Linked DNA regions of Homo sapiens: regions 1, 2, 4, 5, 6 and 7 are each linked to region 3. The links are contacts of gene promoters, found by promoter capture Hi-C in blood cells and fetal thymus (Javierre and others, 2016). All regions are on one chromosome and are shown on one strand. Each heading gives the region's core, a stretch centred on a gene start or on the middle of the fragment in contact. The rest is flanking DNA. Distances are from core to core; before and after follow the strand shown.

Region 1 (2,700 bases), core at 106-2,605, 460 kb after region 3:
TTTGTGTATTTGTATCATGGTTACTCATCAAAAGCTCTCATTCTGCCTTTGTAGAATTCAGTTCCCTTCCTTTCATCATAGCTAAAGTGACTTTTTTCCCTACTATTAACGTGATCCTACATCCTTAAATCTCATCGATTACCTCACTTAGGCCTTGGAACCTTGGCCCTTGGTCGGTGTCCTTGGCGTCTTCTAAGCAAGGCTGTGCGTTGTTCAGAAACGTGGCCAGACCGCATTTCCTGCTGCTCCCATGCCGCATGCCAGGTGGCCTGAGACAGAGCTCCCCATACGGCTGCAAGGTGCTTTACCTGTGGGCTTTGGCAGTAACCCAAGAGAGGATCAGAAGGTGGAGAAGGTGCCACGAGTGATTTAACAGGCCTGCCACAGGGAGTGCCCCCAGCCCAGCTCGTTCTCAGCACAGGTTTTCTCTTTGGGAGTACCCAGGTGATTTCTAGTGACCCAATTTTGTGTCATCTCCCTGTTTTAGCCCCACTTGCCTAGAGACAACTGTTTCCGATGCCTTTTCTGCTTATCATACTAGTTTCTAACCACGCAGATTTCTCAAAATCATTTATTCAATGTATTTTATTTGAGCACTTAGTGTATTGAGCTAGGCAGGATATAGGGTGCCGGAGATACAGCGATGAACAAGACAGGCAAAACTTCTGCTTTCCTAAAACTTGTGATGAGAGAGAACAATAAAAAAGTGTTGCTGCCACAAAGAAACCAAAGTGTGTGGGGAAGGGCGCGTGTTTGCGGTTTACATCTCTTCTGTCCCAGAATCACAGGGATCTGGTCCGGTCACCTCTGGTCTTTCCTCTTAGTCGCCTTTAGGAGCCCTGGTTCCCGTCCATCCTCTGGGGGGTTTGTTTGAAGAGATCTCGTGTGGGTACTTGTCATGAAAACACCTTGGGCATCATCTGGTGTATCCAGTTCTAGTCTCGAGAATTCTGGTTTCCCACTGTGCTCAGCAAGTGGAAAGTTCTTTTCAGGCCAGAACAGCTCTGCACCATCACATATCGTGTTGCGGCTTAGCTGTTTGGTCTGTAGTTCAGGTTATGGGACTTCTCCAATCCTGGAAGGCTGTTGAGCTTTTTAGAAGTACTGTACGCTATCTTCAAGATGGAGCTTGGTCACATCTGTTAGGAATCCAAAGGACACTATGACTTATTTAAATCTTGTCTTACTAAACCTCTCTTGGGCACGTGTGCCAGAATTTCTCTTGTTGCTTCTTGAGTCTTTTTAATTTCAGTGTTTTTTCGTTTGTTTTTTGTTTTTTTGAGACAGAGTCTCGCTCTGTCACCCAGGCTGGAGTGCAGTGGCACGACCTCAGCTCACTGCAACCTCCGCCTCCTTGGTTCAAGCAATTCTCCTGCCTCAGCCTCCCGAGTAGCTGGGATTACAGGTGTGTGCCACCACGCTCGGCTAATTTTTTATATTTTTTTTAGTAGAGACGGGGTTTCCCCATGTTAGGCAGGATGGTCTCGATCTCCTAACCTCGTGATCCGCCTGCCTCAGCCTCCCAAAGTGCTGGGATTACAGGCTTGAGCCACCGCACCCGGCCTAATCTCAGTTTTTGAAGTGCTCCACAAGTCATTAGGCACCAAAACATTTTCACCTGGGGAACACTGGCATTTCCCTGATTAGCTGTGAAGCAATCTAGTGGCTAAGTGTGAAATCCTGGGTGCGCAGGTGTTCTCACTCCCGCCGTGTTCTCAGTGCAGTGGTGGTCAGAGGCCCTTCCAAGGAGACATCACTCTGATCAGTTACAGATAGATGTTCTGGAAGATCTGCAGGTGAGTAGATCCAGCAGAGTTTCTTCCCACCAACTCTAGAAGAAAGGGCCTTATCAGAGTTGACCCTGAGCCTTTGGTAAGGTTTTGTGTGCATGCGATTCAGTTATCTTTGGCAATTCTTTTCTTGCTGCAGTGAGAGATTAATTGGTTGCTGATCAAACCGTTCATGCAGATGGGGGGACCTTTGGATTGTACGGCTTTCTCCTCTTGGCTGCTTTCTTTTCAGGAAGTTGGACTTTGGCCAGGTTTGGCTTTCCCAGAGCCGTTCCTTTCTCTGTCCTTTCCTTGGGTCCTCATGGTGTGCCCATTGGATCCTTGGCCTTGTGATCCTCTGGGAACTGGGGGCCAGTTCCACTTTTGCAGCCTTCTGTGCTGGAAGAGAAGCCCAGCGCCCTGGAAGGAGCCTCTTTAAGTCCCCCATGTCGCTTTCTCTCTCTGCTCTTTTAGTGTCTGAGATTGCCTTTCTTTGAATTTCCCAGTGTTTCTTTTCCTTGTCCCTTCCCTCACCAACCTGGAGTTATTTTGGTTGACTATGTCCTGGCTTTGGCTTCTCCTGGCAGGAAGTCATCAGGCATCCTCTCCAGGTGAGCCGAAATTCCACCCTCCCAGGTTGGACATCATCTTTTAAACCCAATGGTCTACTCCCCTCCTTCTTTATGAAACAGTGATTTCCCGTGAGTAACTCTGGTTCTGATTTTTTGTACCGGCGCTTAAATTCTTTCTGTAGACGTTGGAAAGCCACAAAGAACGTGACTGCAGTGAGCCTCCCACTGGAGCAGCCTTAACCAACACTTTGGCCAAAGCCCCCCCACCTCCCCTGTGTACTGTGTGTGTGTTTGGTGGATACAGTATTCCTTTTCAGTGTCCCTAAAGCTGTGATGGGGAGTCCCCACTTACCTAGAAA
Region 2 (2,700 bases), core at 37-2,536, 500 kb after region 3:
ATGGGGGACACACCCTTCGCCTCCTCCAAGGGTCAAAATCCTACCTGGCTTTCAAGGGCTGGTTCTAAGATCCTCTGCTCCTCCAAGGAGCCTGTCCCCATCCCCCAACCCTATGTGCACTTGTGCTTTGTACCTCTCCATGTGCCATCACAGCCAACCTGGCTTTGTATCCCTAACCATTCATTTATTCATTCACTCGTTCAACAAATATCAGCTGAGCCCCTACACGGTGTCAGGCACCAGGCCAGACGCTCATGATGCATGGGGCAGGGTTACCAGGGTGCCTACCTTCCTGGAGCCTTAAGTCCAGTGGGGGAGGCACTACAGGGAAACCTCCTTGAAAACAAGACCTCGGTGGTCTGGACTTTGGGGGGTCTCTTCCCCGCCCCAACCTTTCATGGAGGCTGAAACATGACAGATGCCAAACAGCCCCAGCCAGAGAGACGGGCTGGCTTCCTGCTCCTCTGTCTCCCAGTTCTTTTCCCCCCTGAACAGGAACCCCAGGTGGATCCGCATCCCTGGACCCACAGGTGAGCGACCCCGGCGGCCCACCCACACGCACCTGAGGGCAGGGCGAGGCAGGCCGGGGCTGCAGCGCTCCAGCCACCAGGCGACTCAGCAGCAGCTGGTGCATCTGCGCGTTCTGCAGCATCATCAGTTCCAGCAGGTCTAGGAAGCGGGGTTCAGCAAGCCCACGCCGGGCCTCCGAGTCCCCCTCCCCCTGACACCCCTGTCCCGGGGGTGAAGAATGGGTTGGCGGGTTGTGCTGCGGGGACTCCCAGAGGATGTGCGAGGCAGAAGAGGGTGAGTGGTGGTGATGGTGGGGGTGGGGTGGGGGGACCCGGGAGTCTCACCTTCCTTCACGCGGCCTGGCTGCGGGGGCGCAGGTGGGACGGCCCACGAGAGGGGCTGCAGGAAGGTGACCCAGGGCTGGGGGTGTGCGCGGAGTCAGCCAGGTGGGGTGGGGGGAATGGATGGGGACACGTCGCGAGCCCCAACCCCCCCGGCCAGTGGCCTCCCTAACCCCGCAGGGGCCAGGTTCTCTCCTCCCCGCCCCGCGGCCTCCCTGCTCCCTGCCACGCCTCTTCCTCTCGGTTTGGGGCTGTCTCTCCTCGTCCCCCACCCCTCCAGGATCTGGCCCCTCCAGGGACAGCTCCCCACTCTGCCGTCTCCCAAGCTAAGGCAGGATCTGCTCCCGGGCTCAGCCCTCACCGTCGGGACTGCGCTCTGCGGTGGGGAGCGACCCCAGCTTCCGCCCGCCCCAGAGGCCATGGCTGGCGCCGGTTGCCTTGGCGACGCCGAGGACGCCAAGGTCTCTTCCCACGCATGCGCGGAGCCCGCCCGTGCTCCTGGGTCTTCCATCTCCCTGCTCCCTCCTGTCTCCTCCTCCGCGGACTTGGGGTCCCCAGGAGCCCTCCCCCGCCACCAGGAGGCCAGTCTCCTCCCCGGCATGTCCACCTCCCGCCGCGCTGCTCGGGGCTCCCCTCCCCTCCCCTTGCTGGTTCCCAGAACTGGGCCTGGGTTAGTGCGGGGAAGGGGGGTGTGTTTGTTGAGTGAATAAGCGAGTGACTGGGGAGGCTTGGTTTCGGGGTCCCAGAGCCCGATTGACTCAGCTGAAAAGTTCAGGAGAAACAGAGACTTTTGCAGGAGCAGGCTGGGGGCTAGGGCAGACGAGTGAGGAGGACAAAGGGTCTGTTCCCTGTCACTCTGACAGAGAGAGGGGCTTCCTGCCAGGAAAGAGTGGTTTCTGGAGCAGACCAAGGAAGGAAACACCGCCCGAATTCACGGAAGAGGCTGAGGACTCTGGCTGGAAACACGTGGCCGGCTTCTCGCCTCTCTCCTTGCGGCTATTTGCCCTGTTTCCTGGCCAAGGTGAGCCACTGCTCCTCAGACGAGGAAAATCGTGGTGACTTCAGCACCCGCGTCCCCAGTACTGTCTCCCGTACTGGAAAAGTTACCAAAGCACGCGTTCTTTTGACAGGAAGTTAGCAAGGTCTTCCTTGCTTAAGAACAGGTGAAGGGGGAGATCTATTTCTGCAGCTGTGACCATCCTAAGATAGGCCCCCGGCAGCAGTCAAGGAAAATCCAGACAGGAAGCTGGGCTTAGCACCCCGAGTAGCCCTTCCCCCACTCTCCATGTCAGCTCCCCTTCCTGCCAGTCCTGGAGTAAGAACCAGAAAGACCATTCCCACCTCCTCCTTTGCTCCGTAGTACCTGTCTCTAGGGGAGCAGGCTTGTGGGCATTACTTTACTGTCCCCATGGGTCTTATGGCTTCAACAGCCATTAACAAGCTGAGATCCAGGCACTGGGGTCACAGCCCCCCAGTGAGTAGAACACAGAGATGCCTCTCTCCATCTCCATTCTCATTCCAGGTAGAAAGAGAACAAGCCATTTTGCTCATCATCAACAAACCTTGACCAAGGAAGTGTCTGCGTGTGCAATGTGCCATCTGAACCCTGGAGGCATAAGCAGTATGGTCACTTGTCCCAGCATTGTTGGGAAGTGAAAATGTATCCATGGAAAGAGAGCAGAAAGATAAGACTACGCCCCGGGGATAATGAAAAAGAGAGGACTTGACCGCTGAGGGATGGAGTTCCAAGGAAGTCAGTCCTTGATGGGGCCAAGCAGCAGGGGAAGACGGGCGCTATCAGGCTGGGGACAGAGCCCAAGCCAAGACCCAGGTGTATGAATGGACAGGA
Region 3 (2,700 bases), core at 73-2,572:
TTGGGCTGTGGAAAACATTTACCTATTTACCTTGGAAGTTTTAAAAGACAGTCCACTTTTTAGCATGTGTGTTGTGTCCAGCCTGTGGTCGTCTTAACTAATAAATGTGATTTTTCTCCCCATTCTCTCTTTTTATTTATTTGCGTATAGGCCTTTTACCTGGTGTGAGTTCCTGAATGTGGAAAACACCTGGCAGTAGTACCCAGCTTTGCAGTTAATTACTATCTAGCTGGCCTTTTTTTAAACCCTTGTATACACTTGTAAAGAAGAACTATTTCCTGAACCTGGTACAGCACTTTACTAATGATAAAACTTTACTCCTGAATTACATTAACTCAATTGCTAAGCTGTTACCCCTCTTAATCAGGTAGTAGTTTGGTAGTCTCACAGTGAAATGTAGATTGTTCCTTTTTCCCTGAACCTCTTTAAAGGTTTTCGTAACTGAGGCTGGTATAAGAAATCATGGACTTTGGAATCAAACTTCCTCAGTCTGGGTATACCACTTTTCCACTTTCTGGGTAGGTCTTAAGGTCTCGACCTATTTAAATAGAAACTGCAAAATCAGAAACCTGCAATTTAATCATGAGTCTCTTAATAATAACAGTCACAAGTCTCATTGTTTTGATGAACCCATAGAAGGGGCCCCTGGAAGAAATTGCACGTACGTGGTTTTCTCTGACACCAGGAGGGTTTAAGACATGTCAGGGCCCCTTGGTTTATTTCTAGTGCATTCCCAGGTGAGGCAGATGCTGCTGGCTGGGGACTGCCCTTTGGAAGCCACTGCAATATTTAAAGTGACCATACCACTACCCTAGTCACGAAGCCTATCGCCCCCCTCCCCGGAAGCTTAAGCGTCAAGACAACGGCTCTGGGGTTAGGCCTAGGCCACCTGGCGGCAGCATTTGCCTAGTTAAGAAGGCCTGGGCTTACAAATCACCGTAAAGGACTAAAACTGTTTAAAGGGAAACCAAATGCCAAATTTAGTCCAAGTGCTTGATTGAGGTGTATATAGAAGGTGATTTGGATAATACTGAAGTATTTTAATTTTCTGGACTGCAAAACAGTGGCAGAAGGAAGTGACTCAAGTGGCTACACCACGGTTATAAATAGGTGGGAATAACCTTTACTGGTGCTTACGAGGAAAGAAAAAAGTCAATCTGAAGGGAGGGGCGCGACGCGAACGGCAAGCTAGCAGAGAACCATCCGAGCCGGCGTCCGCCATGGTGGGCGGGGGACGGCTGCGGCCGGAACGCAGACATGCGCTTCCGGGGTGGGGCCTGCCGCCCGCAAGCACGCTCACCTCCGTTGCGCCTGCGCCGTGGCCTCTCCGGATTCTGTTAACGGTAGTGGTGGCTTGTTGGGATCCGTTGAGTGATGGGAGAGTGTGCTCTTTAACTTCGGAGAGAGATGCGCTCTCGTGTAGCCGTCAGGGCCTGCCATAAGGTCTGCAGGTGCCTGTTGTCTGGGTTTGGGGGTCGAGTAGATGCGGGGCAGCCGGAGCTGTTGACGGAAAGGAGTAGCCCCAAAGGAGGGCATGTGAAGTCGCACGCGGAGCTCGAGGGGAACGGCGAGCACCCAGAAGCCCCCGGGTCTGGAGAGGGAAGCGAGGCGCTGTTAGAGATCTGTCAGAGAAGGCATTTCCTAAGTGGAAGCAAGCAGCAGCTTAGCCGGGATTCTCTTCTGAGTGGGTGCCACCCCGGCTTCGGACCCTTGGGCGTAGAGTTGCGGAAGAACCTGGCCGCAGAATGGTGGACCTCGGTGGTGGTGTTCAGGGAGCAGGTATTCCCGGTGGACGCCCTCCACCACAAACCAGGCCCTTTGCTACCCGGGGACAGTGCCTTCAGGTTAGTTTCTGCAGAAACTCTACGCGAAATCTTGCAAGACAAAGAGCTGAGTAAGGAACAGCTAGTAGCATTTCTTGAGAACGTATTAAAAACTTCTGGGAAACTACGGGAGAACCTTCTTCACGGTATGCTTCACGATTTCATGCTTCAAAACAGGTGTCGGGTGGAAAGGCGAGGCAGTCTTGCTGGATCTTGGGGATTGCAACTGGCCCTGTATTCCCATGCAAGGAAGTTAGTTAGTTCTCATCTTTTTGAAGTAGTCGGATATATTAACAGTGCTCTACCCTGGAGAAAACTGGTCCATGGAATCATTGCTGTTCCTTAAACAATCTGTCCGAAGGACCTGGGAACGCTCTCAATTTCACGGGGCAACTTCTGAACACAGTGCTGTCATTTAGTGCAATGTAGTCTAAGTGCATAAGGAACTACACAGACATTTTGAACTTTTCTTAGATTTATTCTAAGTAAAAATGTTGAAATTATAATTCTGAAACTATTTCATGTATATCATAGGATAAATCAAGGCCAGGCGCAGTGGCTCACGCCTGTAATCCCAGCATTTTGCAAGGCAGAGGCGGGTGGATCACCTGAGGTCAGGAGTTCGAGACTAGCCTGGCCAACATGGTGAAACCCCGTCTCTACTAAAAAGACAAAAATTAGCCGGCCGTGACGGCGAGCGCCTGTAATCCCAGCTACTTGGGAGGCTGAGGCAGGAGAATCGCTTGAACCCAGGAGGCAGAGGTTGCAGTGAGCCGAGATCACGCCACTGCACTCCAGCTTGGGTGACAAGAGCAAAACTCCGTCTTAAAAAAAAAAAATTCAAATAGTTGGGTTAGTTGTTATTAGGAACCAAGAT
Region 4 (2,700 bases), core at 17-2,516, 410 kb after region 3:
AACTTGGACAAAGGAAAGATGTGGACGTCTGTTTTGTTATTTGAGCTTAAAGAAGTGATTTAGATTAGCCTAGCAATGAGCATCTTGTGACCTCACCCAGGATGTCAGTTCCTGCAGGTGTAAAACTTGTGCCATTCCAGGCCTCAGCTGGACACACGATGGGGGCCGGGGAGTGGAGTTGAGGCCAGTGGCTGCTCCCAGGGGATCAGTGAGCAGGTTTGTTTCTTTCCCGTGTTAATCCTGGGAGACCAAACCTTGATTTCAGCTATATTTTCCCTCTACCTTTACCAGATAACCTTACCTTTACCTTACATAACAGCCACTTTTTATATTTGTGAAGTAACTCCCCCACAACTTTTTTTTTCTGAAAGTAAAACAACTTGGTGACATTGGCTTTTATTCTTATCGGGCCCCATATAGATAGTGGCTTATTTTACAGCAGTATTTGTTTACATCCCTACAGGTAGGACAGTGTTTCTTTTCACATGGCTGAAAACTTTTTTTTTTAAAGCAAGAATCTTACCTGATATCAGTTCTCATTATTAAATCAAAACCACTTTTTCATGTTACTCTTTTAGTGCACATTTTCAGATAATGCTCTTTTTATTTTTGCTGACTTTCCAAAGATAATTTTCTCTTTAACCTTTTTTAATATGAAAAAATTTAACCATATGTACAGAGAGTAGTAAAATAACACTCCAGTGTTCCCGTGTCTCATCTTTAACTGTTATCAACAGCCTGCCACTTCTTGTTTTATCTGTCCTCCCCGCCCCCCGTATAATTATTTTCTGTAGTATTTTAAAGCAAATCTTGAATTCAGATGATTCTTAAAGAAAAACATTTACAGAATTAGGTCATTGTTACATTTCAGAAGCCAAGCAGCAGTGTGTCTGCCTCTGTCAGAACTGTCTTAATAATTGTGTCTTTACCTGGGCTGCAGCTTTGAAGAGGCTTATTCCAGGTGCTTATTTTACTGAGTGGATGGGAAATGCTAAGATAACCATAAGGCCCTCCTACTGGAGTTTATCTTCTCCTAAGCCTAGAAAAAAAAAATCACAGTTCTTAAACACCAATGTAGTTGTCCCGGGAATCTTCCCCTGTCTCCTGCCAATGTCCTGAATCTTAACTGGAACCTTCCTGATACAGGGCATATCTTGGGACCTGAGGCCTCAGTGTCAGGTGACCAGTGGATAAGCTATAGAAAACCAGGAAAATCTGCATCTGAAGACGAGTCTGTGTGACTGAGCAAACACTGTACAGCAAAGATCAGGTTATGAACAGGAATTTAAATCATGTTGGTCTGCATGTCTTGTTTCTGGTGAATTCCTGGAATTTGGCCATGTCCTCTTAATCTGTGTTTATCTGTGATACCTTTAAGTGGCTGAAACAAACAAAAAAGATGCCATTTTACTGCTGTGTTTTCTTCGGAATATGATATTCTTGCTCTTCTTGGCTTGCATGCCTTCAGGCCGGTGTTAAAATAACTGGGTTATTGCACCTTGACTAGCTTGTTTCAGTAGGATGAGTGTGGTGTGCCTTTATTTCCTGTCTCTTGCATCAGTCTGTTTGTGAGAGTGTACCGAGAGGTGATTAATGGGAAAGATAAACATGTGCTTACTGACTGAAAGTTCTTCCTGTTTCCTAGAGTGTTTTTGGTTTAGTGAGTTGTTTGTTTGCTGCCCACAGACCGCATATGGTGTGTGTACACCTCTGTTGTTGTGAACACCATATGCCTTTGTATAGGAGCTGGGCTTTTAAGCAAAGTCAACATATGATAAGGCTTAAAAGATTTTCCTTCATCCAATAATTGGATGGATTGGACAGCCGTCTGTCACCATAAGCAGAGCCTACAGAGTCTGGAATTCTGCATACAAAATCATGTAAGAATACTTGCTGTTCTTGCCCCCCAGAGATTAAGTTGTGTATAGCATGGCTGTGGGGTTTTGGTTGCTGGAAATACCTCATCGCTGTGAGTCTCCTGCCTGCGGACTTTTGGATCTGTCACTACACAGTGCTGCTGTGCCAGTGTTCATGCTCTCTCACTGCCACCACCATCTGCCCCTGGAATCAGGAGCTTCCTCTTGCTTTGTGCCCAGGAAAATCTAGGGAGGGAAGAATTCTGCCATTAATTGCTGCAAATGTAAAATTGACTTAGAGAAAAAAACGTGTTCTCAATTTAAAAAGTAATGCCTGCTCTTGCAGAAATTTTAAGATATAGAAAAGGTTGGGGGGAGTTGCATTTCCAACAAGGATAACTTACAATTAGCATTTTTGATCTTTCCATCTAATTAGGTACATTGAAGCCTTTCCCCATAGTTGCATTAATACTCTATGTACAATGTTATCTTTTCTCCTGAACATAATAGCATAGGTTTGTATATGTCTTAAAATTTTATTAGCCCTCTTAGAAGCCTTAATTTTTTGCCAAGTGGACATTCTATAACTTAACCATATTATTGGGTAGGTCATTTGTAATGCTGCTACGTACACATCTTTGTACAAAAACCATTTTCTATAGTTTATATTGTCTTTAAATTAGATTTTATAAAAATGCAATGGGGGGGCCAAAGGGAATGAACACTTGGAGGCTCTAGAATTGCCGCTCCAAAGAGGTGTGTCCATTTACTGGCCAATCAAAGTTAGTTCTTAAACCCATTTTACTTTTCCTAATGGGAATATGTAGAGCTACTCCAGGCATCG
Region 5 (2,799 bases), core at 300-2,799, 330 kb after region 3:
TCTCCGTGTGCCTCCCCATCAACTGCCCATTGGTGTATCCCATTGGCCATGCCCAACCAGAAGCTGGAGGGTAAAAGAGACCGTTGGCACAGTTCACGCAGACCAACCACTGGGGATAGAGTGTAGATCTGGCAGGGCAAACAGAAAATGTTCAGCATGAGATCAAAGGATGTGCTATTTTTCTTTTTTTTTTTTTTGAGACGGATTCTCGCTCTGTCACCCAGGCTGGAGTGCAGTGGTGCGATCTTGGCTTGCTGCAACCTCCACCTCTCAGGTTCAAGCAATTCTCCTGCCTCAGCCTCCTGAGTAGCTGGGACTACAGGCACGTGCCACCACACCCGGCTAATTTTTTGTATATTTAGTAGAGACGGGTTTCACCGTGTTAGCCAGGATGGTCTCAATCTCTTGACCTCGTGATCCGCCCACCTCGGCCTCCCAAAGTGCTGGGATTACAGGCGTGAGCCACTGCGCCTGGCCAGCATGTGCTGTTTTTCAAGGATTTTCATACACATGTAAGTTTGCCTATCGGAAATGTAGCAATTTCTCTTCTTTTCTTTTTTTTTTTTTTTTGACGCAGAGTCTCGCTCTGTCCTCCAGGCTGGGGTGCAGTGGCACATTCTCAGCTCACCGCAACCTCTGCCCCCAGGTTCAAGTGATCCTCCCACCTCAGCCTCTCCGAGTAGCTGGGACTACAAGTGCATGCCACCTTGCCTGGTGGATTTTTGTATTTTTTGGTAGAGTTGGGGTTTCACCATGTTGGCCAGGCTGGTCTCGAACTCCTGACCTCAAGTGATCCATCCACCTTGGCCTCCCAAAGTGTTGGGATTACAGACATGAGCCACCGCACCTGACCTTGTTGTAGCAGTTTCTTACTACCCACTGAGAGTCTGAGAGAGGTCTGTTTTCCCATACTTCAGCAAATGTGGGGTACTGTTAACCAGCATGGCTGGCTCCTTCTCCATAGGTGGCCTCTGCTCAAATGCCACTCCTCAGGGAAGCCATCCCTGACCTCCTCAGCCAAAACAGCCACCCCCGTGTTCCCTCTGCCCATTACCTGCTTGATGTTCTTTGCAGCACTAATCACTCTCTGGAAGTATATTGTCTATGTATTTACCTGTTTCTGCCTTTCTATTATAAACCCCGTGAGAGCCAGGCCCTGGCCTGACCTCTTCATGGCTCTGTCTGGAGTACGAAGCCTAGTACATGATGTGTGCACATTACGTTTTCGTTACATAAATGATATGTCCCCAAAACCTTGGCCACCATCCTCTCCGGAAGCATGTTGACTTGCAACAGCATGTTTTGTAGGTTGCTCATGGGTCTCACTCATTGTTTGCTTGTTTCCTCTAGCTCCCCTACTTTATGAATGAGCTCACTCTGACGGAACTTGACATGGGCGTGGCTGTGCCAAAAATCCTCCAGGCCTTCAAGCCTTACGTTGATCACCAAGGTAACTCCTAACTGACCATTCTATGAGTGTTAAAATATATCCTTTGCTGCAGATTCAGTACCATGATGGCTTTGTGTTTGGAGGGTGTTGAGGACTTTTTAAATCATCTGTTTCATGTTGAGTGTCTTTCTGTTCTTACCAGTCATGGCCTTAAAACTGATTTGGGGCCGGGCATGGTGGCTTACGCCTGTAATCCCAGCATTTTGGGAGGCCAAGGCAGGCGGATCACCTGAGGTCAGGAATTCGAGGCCAGCCTGGCCAACATGGCAAAACACCGTCTCTACTAAAAAAGTACAAAAATTAGTCGGGCGTGGTGGCGGGTGCCTGTAATCCCAGCTACTCAGGAGGCTGAGGCAGGAGAATCGCTTGAACCCAGGAGACGGAGGTTGCAGTGAGCCAAGATCGTGCCACTGGACTCCAGCCTGGATGACAAGAGCGAGACTCTGTCTCACAAAAAAAAAAAAAAAAAAAAAAAAAGATTTGGAATAGATCCAAGCTCCCATCCTAAGTCTTTTAGTCTCTTGGTTATTATAGGGCCTCCTCCAGCCCAGTGATGCACACATGCCAGCTGATGGGGCCTGTGCTTTTGTAGGGGTTGCAGCCCTTGCCAGGGCATGAGGCAGTGGCTGGATTTCAGTTCCGCTCACCTCTCATGGCCCTCACGGGTGCAGCTGCCCCAGCCCTAGCCGCTTGCCAGGAGCTGCCTCTCCTCACATGTGTTCACATCCTTACCTCTCCTGACTTGTAGGTTCCAGATTTTTTGACTTTCATGTCTTCTGTCTTTATGTTCCTTGCTACTCCTAGTAGGTGCTCAGTACATGTTTGAGAAATGAAGACGTACAGTATATTCAAAGGCAATATTTTGAGAGTAGGGCTCCTTGCTGGAGGAAAGTTCTCAGATTTGAGTTTTTAAACATGTTACTAAGACATTATTTATGTCTGCTTTTGTGGGTGGGGGGTTAAAGAGTTGATCAGATTGTAGAGAGTTTGTGTAACATGATGATGATGATGATGTAAGGATTTGTATCTCTTATGTCACATAAACCATAAATACGGTTTTAAAAGGATCTTGACAGGGAAAATTTAGTACACAGGAGTTTGGTAAAAAAAGAGGAATGAGCCAGGTAGGCCAGAATAGCCCATTAGCATGCAGAGAGAATTCTCACTGACGTTTTTACTGTAGCCTCCCTTGGCAAGTGAGCCTCTTTCCACTTCAACCATATTTACATTTTTCCTAAAATGGCTTAGGAACAAGGTAGGAGAAAAACTAATTATAGCTTTTCAAGAGAGTGATAGTTGTTTTAAAGTAAATGTTTTATAAAATTTGTAGAGCATGGAAGCTACTTTTC
Region 6 (2,857 bases), core at 67-2,566, 430 kb after region 3:
CTAATTTTTTTTTTTTTTTTTTTTTGTAGAGACGGGGGTCTCACTATGTTGCCCAGGCTGGTCTTGAAGTCCTGGACTCAAGTGATCTTCCTACCTCAGCCTCCCAAATTCTTGGGCTTATAGACATGAGCCACCACAGCTGTCCCTGACTTTCAGTTTGATCGATGGGTTTCAAGTGACTGCTATGAAATGCCAGATTAATAGGCATCTCCACTGGCTCCTTCCTCCTCAGTATTTACTCTCACTTATTGAATAGAGTGTTAAAGAACATCACCAAATAAATTGCCTTTGGGAGAGTGATCCTGGCTTGTGTTTATACGCCAGCCAGCTCTCAGTGTCTTGATATTACAGAGACTAAGCGAGTTCATTGGAAACAAGTGAAATTGCTCAGAGGAGATCTGAGAATATTCCAGAAGTCTTGTTTCCTCTAACTGAGTGACTAGAGCCTGCCACAAGAGTAGAGGATGTGGTTGCAAGATGGGGTGAGACTCAGCATGCTTTGTTTATTTGATCTGTACAGAGATGTCCCACTTTGTGTCCAATGGTGATGGGCTGGTGGTGACTGTGGACAGTGAATCTGGGGACGTCCTGTGGATCCAAAACTACGCCTCCCCTGTGGTGGCCTTTTATGTCTGGCAGCGGGAGGGTCTGAGGAAGGTGATGCACATCAATGTCGCTGTGGAGACCCTGCGCTATCTGACCTTCATGTCTGGGGAGGTGGGGCGCATCACAAAGTGGAAGTACCCGTTCCCCAAGGAGACAGAGGCCAAGAGCAAGCTGACGTGAGTTGGGAGCTCGGGGAAGGAGAGGGCGGCCGTGGCCTTCGTGTTCTGGTGCTGTTGCAGTGTAGCAGGCCCTGCACGGGAGGCCAAAGACAGGGCAGTCTCTGAAGCCATGAGGAATATTCAGAGCCAAGACTGTTTCATTTGGAAACCTCAGAATACAAGAGCTGAGGGGCACCCATTAACACTTCAGAGTTATTAAATATTACATAAAAATCATGGATGGGAGGTGTCGGGCACCATGGCATACACCTGTAATTCCAGCTACTTGAGAGGCTGAGGTGGGAGGATTGTTTGAGCACAGGAGTTTGAGGCCAACCTGGGCAACATGGCAAGACCCTCCCCCTGCCACCACACACACACAAATAAAGGTATAGGAAAGAGACTGCCAGTGTAAGTATAGTTTGGATCTATCTTAGGTGGTAGGGATGCAAGAGATTTATTTTTTTAACTTTCTATATTTTCTAAGTTTTTAGGTTATATTCATTTTAAAAATCAGAAAAAATAGTTACAGTGTGTGTGTGTGTCCAAGACTCAGCAGGCTTCTGTTCTCCATCCCCCTCTTCATAGCCTATCACCGAGTCACTTAAACTCCCCAAGCCTCAGTTTCCTACTTTATATATAGAGTTGTGTGGAAGATCAAACAAGATAATATGCCGGCAAGTGTTTAGATTGTAAAACAGCATTCAAATGTAAGGTATTCGTTGAGAGAGGTTTAGATAATGTAGTGGATGACCGATCCCAGGTGGGCTCTTGACAGTAAGCAGAAGGGCCAGGAGGTGTAGCTCTCACCATTTTCTGTCTCCCTGATGTCCCACATGGGGACAGACTACACAGCTGGGGAACCAGAAGTCTCACCAAGTCTGGAATTTCTTATGCATCCCTTTTGCTCTCAGCATCCAGAGTAGAGCAGCTGACCATTTCTCAGGAGTTCTGTAAAACCTCCAGGATCCTTAGAAAGCACAAGGCAGAATGGGGGTAGTTCTGGTGGTCGCTGGAGTGATCGCTGGAGTGAAAGTGTGTTGTAGAGAGTCATCTGAGGGGCCTCGGCGGTGGTAGTAAGCACTCAGTCTCCTCTGTGGCCACTGGGCGTAGTCCTTTCTGCAGGCATCATGGGCATCGTCTAGTCCAGCCCTGCGATTTTGCTGAGGCTTGCCATTAGGTGGCTTGTCCATGTTTCTGCAGTGAGTGACAGCTGGGATGAAGTCCTGTGGTCCTGTTCCCAGGGCAGTGCCCCTAGCTTCACACCCCTACTGCGTTCCTCCATGTCTGGGGGGTTAATGTGGTCATCCCTGCGGGTGGTATTTGGGGTGATGATTACTCCCTTCTGTGGGATCTGGAAATTCAATGACTCTGGAATGCATGTATCTGTTTTTCTCCTAGGCCCACTCTGTATGTTGGGAAATACTCTACCAGCCTCTATGCCTCTCCCTCAATGGTACACGAGGGGGTTGCTGTCGTGGTAAGTCCACTACGGAGGGCTCGCAGCTGCCTAACCACTTCTGTTCCATTTTAGCAAAGAATGACTTTGCTATGCATGAGCATCCTGCAGGTTAAGAATGAAAAACACAAATCTTAAGTTCTCAAAAACAGTTTCTGCACATGCCACATTCTACTTTGAAAGAAAGATACATGACAAAAACAGCTTCTTAAAGCCGAGGAATCCCTGATTATTCCCTTTTGCTTTTGTGATCAAATCTAAACTCCCCAGGCTGGTGTTCATGGCCCTGCTTCATCCAGTCCCACGATGCCCTTCCTCCACCCTGTTAGTTTCTCTATGTGAGTTGCGTGGCCCAACCATGTGCACCTTCTCCCTGACTTCTACAAGCCCCATGTTCATCTTTCCCCGGGGCCTTTGTTCAGGCTGCTCCTCACCTCACACTTCAAATGCCCTTTCTTCTTCCTTTTCCCTACTCAAACCCTTTGCATGCTTTTGCAATCTCGCCGAGCCTCCTTGGGCCTCACAAGCCTGCCTCAAGCATTCTGTCTCTGAAAGTCCAAGGCGTCATAATCCTAGCTGTTTGTCCTGATCCCTACAATGCTTGGGCTGTGTGGTTGGCTCTCTTGTCTTCCCA
Region 7 (2,700 bases), core at 179-2,678, 480 kb after region 3:
CACTGGCTCCTGTTCCCCAACTGGGTAAGGATCGCATTCTAGGGACCTTAACTCTCCCACACTTCTGGGAATCACTAGCTGGCAAGTAAATTGTTCCTAAAGCATTGAAGAAGACCCTGAGACGAAAAGCAAAAAGAAGCATAGTATAAGTTTGGGGGTAGGTGGAGGGGCACTGGCAGCTTAAAAGGGAGTCTAGGCTTGCACAAAATCATCCACTGTAGGGACAGCTGAAATCAGCAGAGGGCAGAAGTGATATGACACAGAGCACCAAAGTCTACTATTACCAACATAATAAATAATGTTTATAGACATTTCTTCGTTGTTAAACCATCCTTGCAAACCTGAGATAAACCCAACTAGAATGTGATGCCTTTTGGTTTTTACACTGCCGGATTTGATTTACCAGTATTTTTCTTATAACTGTTGCATTTATAGTCATGAGTGAAACTGGCCTCTAATATTGCTTTCTCTTCCTGTACTTGTCTTGTTTAGATATTAAGGTTACACTGGCCTCATGGAAAGAGTTAATGTTTTCATTTTTTCCATTCTCAGAGAGAGTTTTTATAAAATTAGAATTACTAACCAGGCACAGTGCTGTATGCCTATAGTCCCAGTTACTCAAGAGACTAAGGCAGGAAGATCTCTTGAGCCCAAGAGTTTGAGACTAGCCTGGGCAATACAGCAAAACTCCATTTCTAAAAAAAATAATAATAATAATTTTTTTTAAAGAGTTACCCTTACTTGAACTTCTGCAAAACCATCTAGACCTGGTATTTTCTTCATGGGAAGATCTTTAAATTACGGATTCAAGTTTTTTTGTTTTCTTTTATTTTTTTCTTGGAGACATGGTCTCACTTTGTTACCTAGGCTAGAGTACAGTGGCGTAATCTCGGTTTACTGCAGCCTCAACCTCCCAGGCTCAAGCCATCCCCCTAACTCCACCTCCCAAGTAGTTGTGACTACAGGCGTGCACCACCACGCCTGGCTAGTTTTTGTATTTTTTGTAGAGATGGGGTTTTGTCATGTTGCCCATGCTGGTCTCAAACTCTTGGGCTTAAGGGATCTTCCCACCTCAGCCTTCCAAAGTGCTGGGATTAGCCGTAAGCACTTTCTTGGAATTACCTGTGAGCCACTATGCCCGGCCCTGATTCAATTTCTTTAATAGTTATAGAACCATTTAGGCTTTTTATTTCTTCTTAAATAAGTTTGGTAAGTTATATTTGTCTAAGACTTGATCTACTTCAATTCCTATGTTGTAGCATAACTTTTTTATAGTCTTCTTTATTTTTCATTGTGGTAAAATACACATAACATAAAATGTACCAAATTAACCATTTTTAAGTGTACACTTCAGCAATTAATGCTAAGTATGTTCTCATTGTTTTGCAACCCATCTCCAGAAATTTTTCCATCTTGCAAAACCAGAACTAAATCCATTTAAAGGACTCTCATTTCCCCTCTCCCACAGCCCCTGGCAACTACTGTTTCACTTTCTGTTTCTATAAATTTGTATAGTTTTCTTTCTTCTCATGTTTACGTTTCCATTTACATTCCTAATCATGTTTACGCATGCCTTCTTTTTCTTTATATATCGATTTCACTGGAGACTTGCCTATCCTATTGAGTTTTGTAGGGAAGGGTTTTTTTGTAATATTTTTTATTTTAATAGAGAGATAATATCGCACTATGTTGCCCAGGCTGGTCTCAAACCCCTGAGCTCAGGTGATCCTTCCGCCTTGGCCTCCCAAAGTGCTAGGATTATAGGCATGAGTCACCATGCCTGGCCATCAGACTTATTTTCCTTCTTTCTTTTTCTTTCTTTCTTTCTTTCTTTCTTTCTTTCTTTCTTTCTTTCTTCCTTCCTTCCTTCCTTCCTTCCTTCCTTCCTTCCTTCCTTCCTTTCTTTCTTTCTCTCTTTCTTCCTTTCTTTCTCTCTCTCTCTTTCTTTCTTTCTCTCTCTCTCCCTCCCTCCCTCCCTTTCTTTCTTTCTTCCTTCCTTCCTTCCTTTCTCTCTCTCTTTCTTTCTTCCTTCCTTCCTTTCTCTCTCTCTTTCTTTCTTTCTCTCTCTCTCCCTTCCTTCCTTCCTTTCTTTCTTTCTTCCTTCCTTCCTTCCCCTCTCTCTCTCCTTCTCTCTCTCTCTCTTCCTTCCTTCCTTCCTTTCTTTCTCTTTCTCTTCCTTCCTTCCTTCCTTCCTTCCTTCCTTTCTTTCTTTCTTTCTTTCTTTCTTTCTTTCTTTCTTTCTTTCTTTCCTTCCTTCCTTCCTTCCTTCTTTCAGATGTGATCTTACCATGTTGCCCAGGCCTGTCTCAAATTCCTGGGCAGGGGCAATCCTCCTGCCTTGGCCTCCCAAAGTGCTGGAATTACAGGCATGAGCCACTGCATCTGGCCCAGAGTTCTTTTCTAATACAAGCATTCTAGGCTATAGATTTCCCTCCAAGCACAACTTTTGCGCCTCGCAGAAATTTTAACATGATATTTTCATTATCATTCAATTTTAGGAATTTATAAATGTGTCATTATGATTTCTTCTTTGACCAATGCATTAGATTATGTTTTTAAACTGTCAAATATATAAGCGTTTTAAAACTCATCTTCTTGAAGAATTTGTATTCTCTACTTTATAGATGCAGTTCAAGCATTTACACCACTGATTTTTTTTTCTGTCCGCATCATTACTCATAAGTAAGAGACATATGTTAA

Evidence for each region. Contacts are between HindIII fragments. The CHiCAGO score rates a contact against its expected background, and 5 or more counts as called.
Region 1: a fragment that was not itself captured here is called in contact with the fragment with the promoter of POLG2 in region 3 in 1 of 17 cell types (monocytes); the score reaches 5.2 in monocytes.
Region 2: a contact is called between the fragment with the promoter of PRR29 here and the fragment with the promoter of POLG2 in region 3, in 13 of 17 cell types (monocytes, erythroblasts, M1 macrophages and 10 more). The highest score is 11.3, in monocytes.
Region 4: a fragment that was not itself captured here is called in contact with the fragment with the promoter of POLG2 in region 3 in 1 of 17 cell types (monocytes); the score reaches 6.4 in monocytes.
Region 5: a contact is called between a fragment that was not itself captured here and the fragment with the promoter of POLG2 in region 3, in 1 of 17 cell types (monocytes). The highest score is 6.5, in monocytes.
Region 6: a fragment that was not itself captured here is called in contact with the fragment with the promoter of POLG2 in region 3 in 1 of 17 cell types (monocytes); the score reaches 9.5 in monocytes.
Region 7: a fragment that was not itself captured here is called in contact with the fragment with the promoter of POLG2 in region 3 in 2 of 17 cell types (monocytes and megakaryocytes); the score reaches 6.0 in monocytes.

The regions. Positions count from the first base shown.
Region 1 is chr17:64,039,728-64,042,427 of GRCh38, reverse strand. ERN1 (endoplasmic reticulum to nucleus signaling 1) reads left to right here. Exons shown (of 22, transcript NM_001433.5): 22 at 1-2,700. Among named protein-coding and RNA genes, the nearest start is that of ICAM2, 20 kb to the right of the region's middle. The HindIII fragment of the contact is 3,607 bases long and covers 1-2,700 here.
Region 2 is chr17:63,996,937-63,999,636 of GRCh38, reverse strand. It overlaps PRR29 (proline rich 29), which reads right to left and starts at 1,286. Exons shown (of 6, transcript NM_001164257.2): 1 at 1,213-1,286; 2 at 855-930; 3 at 563-669. The coding sequence starts at 1,272. PRR29-AS1 (PRR29 antisense RNA 1) reads left to right here. Exons shown (of 3, transcript NR_126169.1): 1 at 1-1,312; 2 at 1,715-1,872; 3 at 2,374-2,700. RefSeq lists an enhancer at 123-1,100 and a silencer at 1,354-1,403. The HindIII fragment of the contact is 13,369 bases long and covers 1-2,700 here.
Region 3 is chr17:64,495,676-64,498,375 of GRCh38, reverse strand. It overlaps POLG2 (DNA polymerase gamma 2, accessory subunit), which reads left to right and starts at 1,322. Exons shown (of 8, transcript NM_007215.4): 1 at 1,322-1,969. The coding sequence starts at 1,408. It overlaps DDX5 (DEAD-box helicase 5), which reads left to right. Exons shown (of 13, transcript NM_004396.5): 13 at 1-122. It also overlaps a transcript of MILR1 not described here. RefSeq lists enhancers at 1,045-1,184, 1,565-1,634, 1,286-2,145. The HindIII fragment of the contact is 2,967 bases long and covers 849-2,700 here.
Region 4 is chr17:64,081,204-64,083,903 of GRCh38, reverse strand. The region is part of intron 2 of ERN1 (endoplasmic reticulum to nucleus signaling 1); the gene reads left to right. Among named protein-coding and RNA genes, the nearest start is that of ERN1, 48 kb to the left of the region's middle. RefSeq lists an enhancer at 1,427-1,546. The HindIII fragment of the contact is 4,037 bases long and covers 1-2,700 here.
Region 5 is chr17:64,169,751-64,172,549 of GRCh38, reverse strand. It overlaps TEX2 (testis expressed 2), which reads left to right. Exons shown (of 12, transcript NM_001288732.2): 7 at 1,351-1,450. Among named protein-coding and RNA genes, the nearest start is that of SNORA50C, 25 kb to the right of the region's middle. The HindIII fragment of the contact is 4,971 bases long and covers 1-2,799 here.
Region 6 is chr17:64,064,596-64,067,452 of GRCh38, reverse strand. ERN1 (endoplasmic reticulum to nucleus signaling 1) reads left to right here. Exons shown (of 22, transcript NM_001433.5): 8 at 521-782; 9 at 2,166-2,244. Among named protein-coding and RNA genes, the nearest start is that of ICAM2, 45 kb to the right of the region's middle. The HindIII fragment of the contact is 3,663 bases long and covers 1-2,857 here.
Region 7 is chr17:64,013,880-64,016,579 of GRCh38, reverse strand. All of the region lies in intron 1 of ICAM2 (intercellular adhesion molecule 2), which reads left to right. Among named protein-coding and RNA genes, the nearest start is that of ICAM2, 5.4 kb to the left of the region's middle. The HindIII fragment of the contact is 3,017 bases long and covers 1-2,700 here.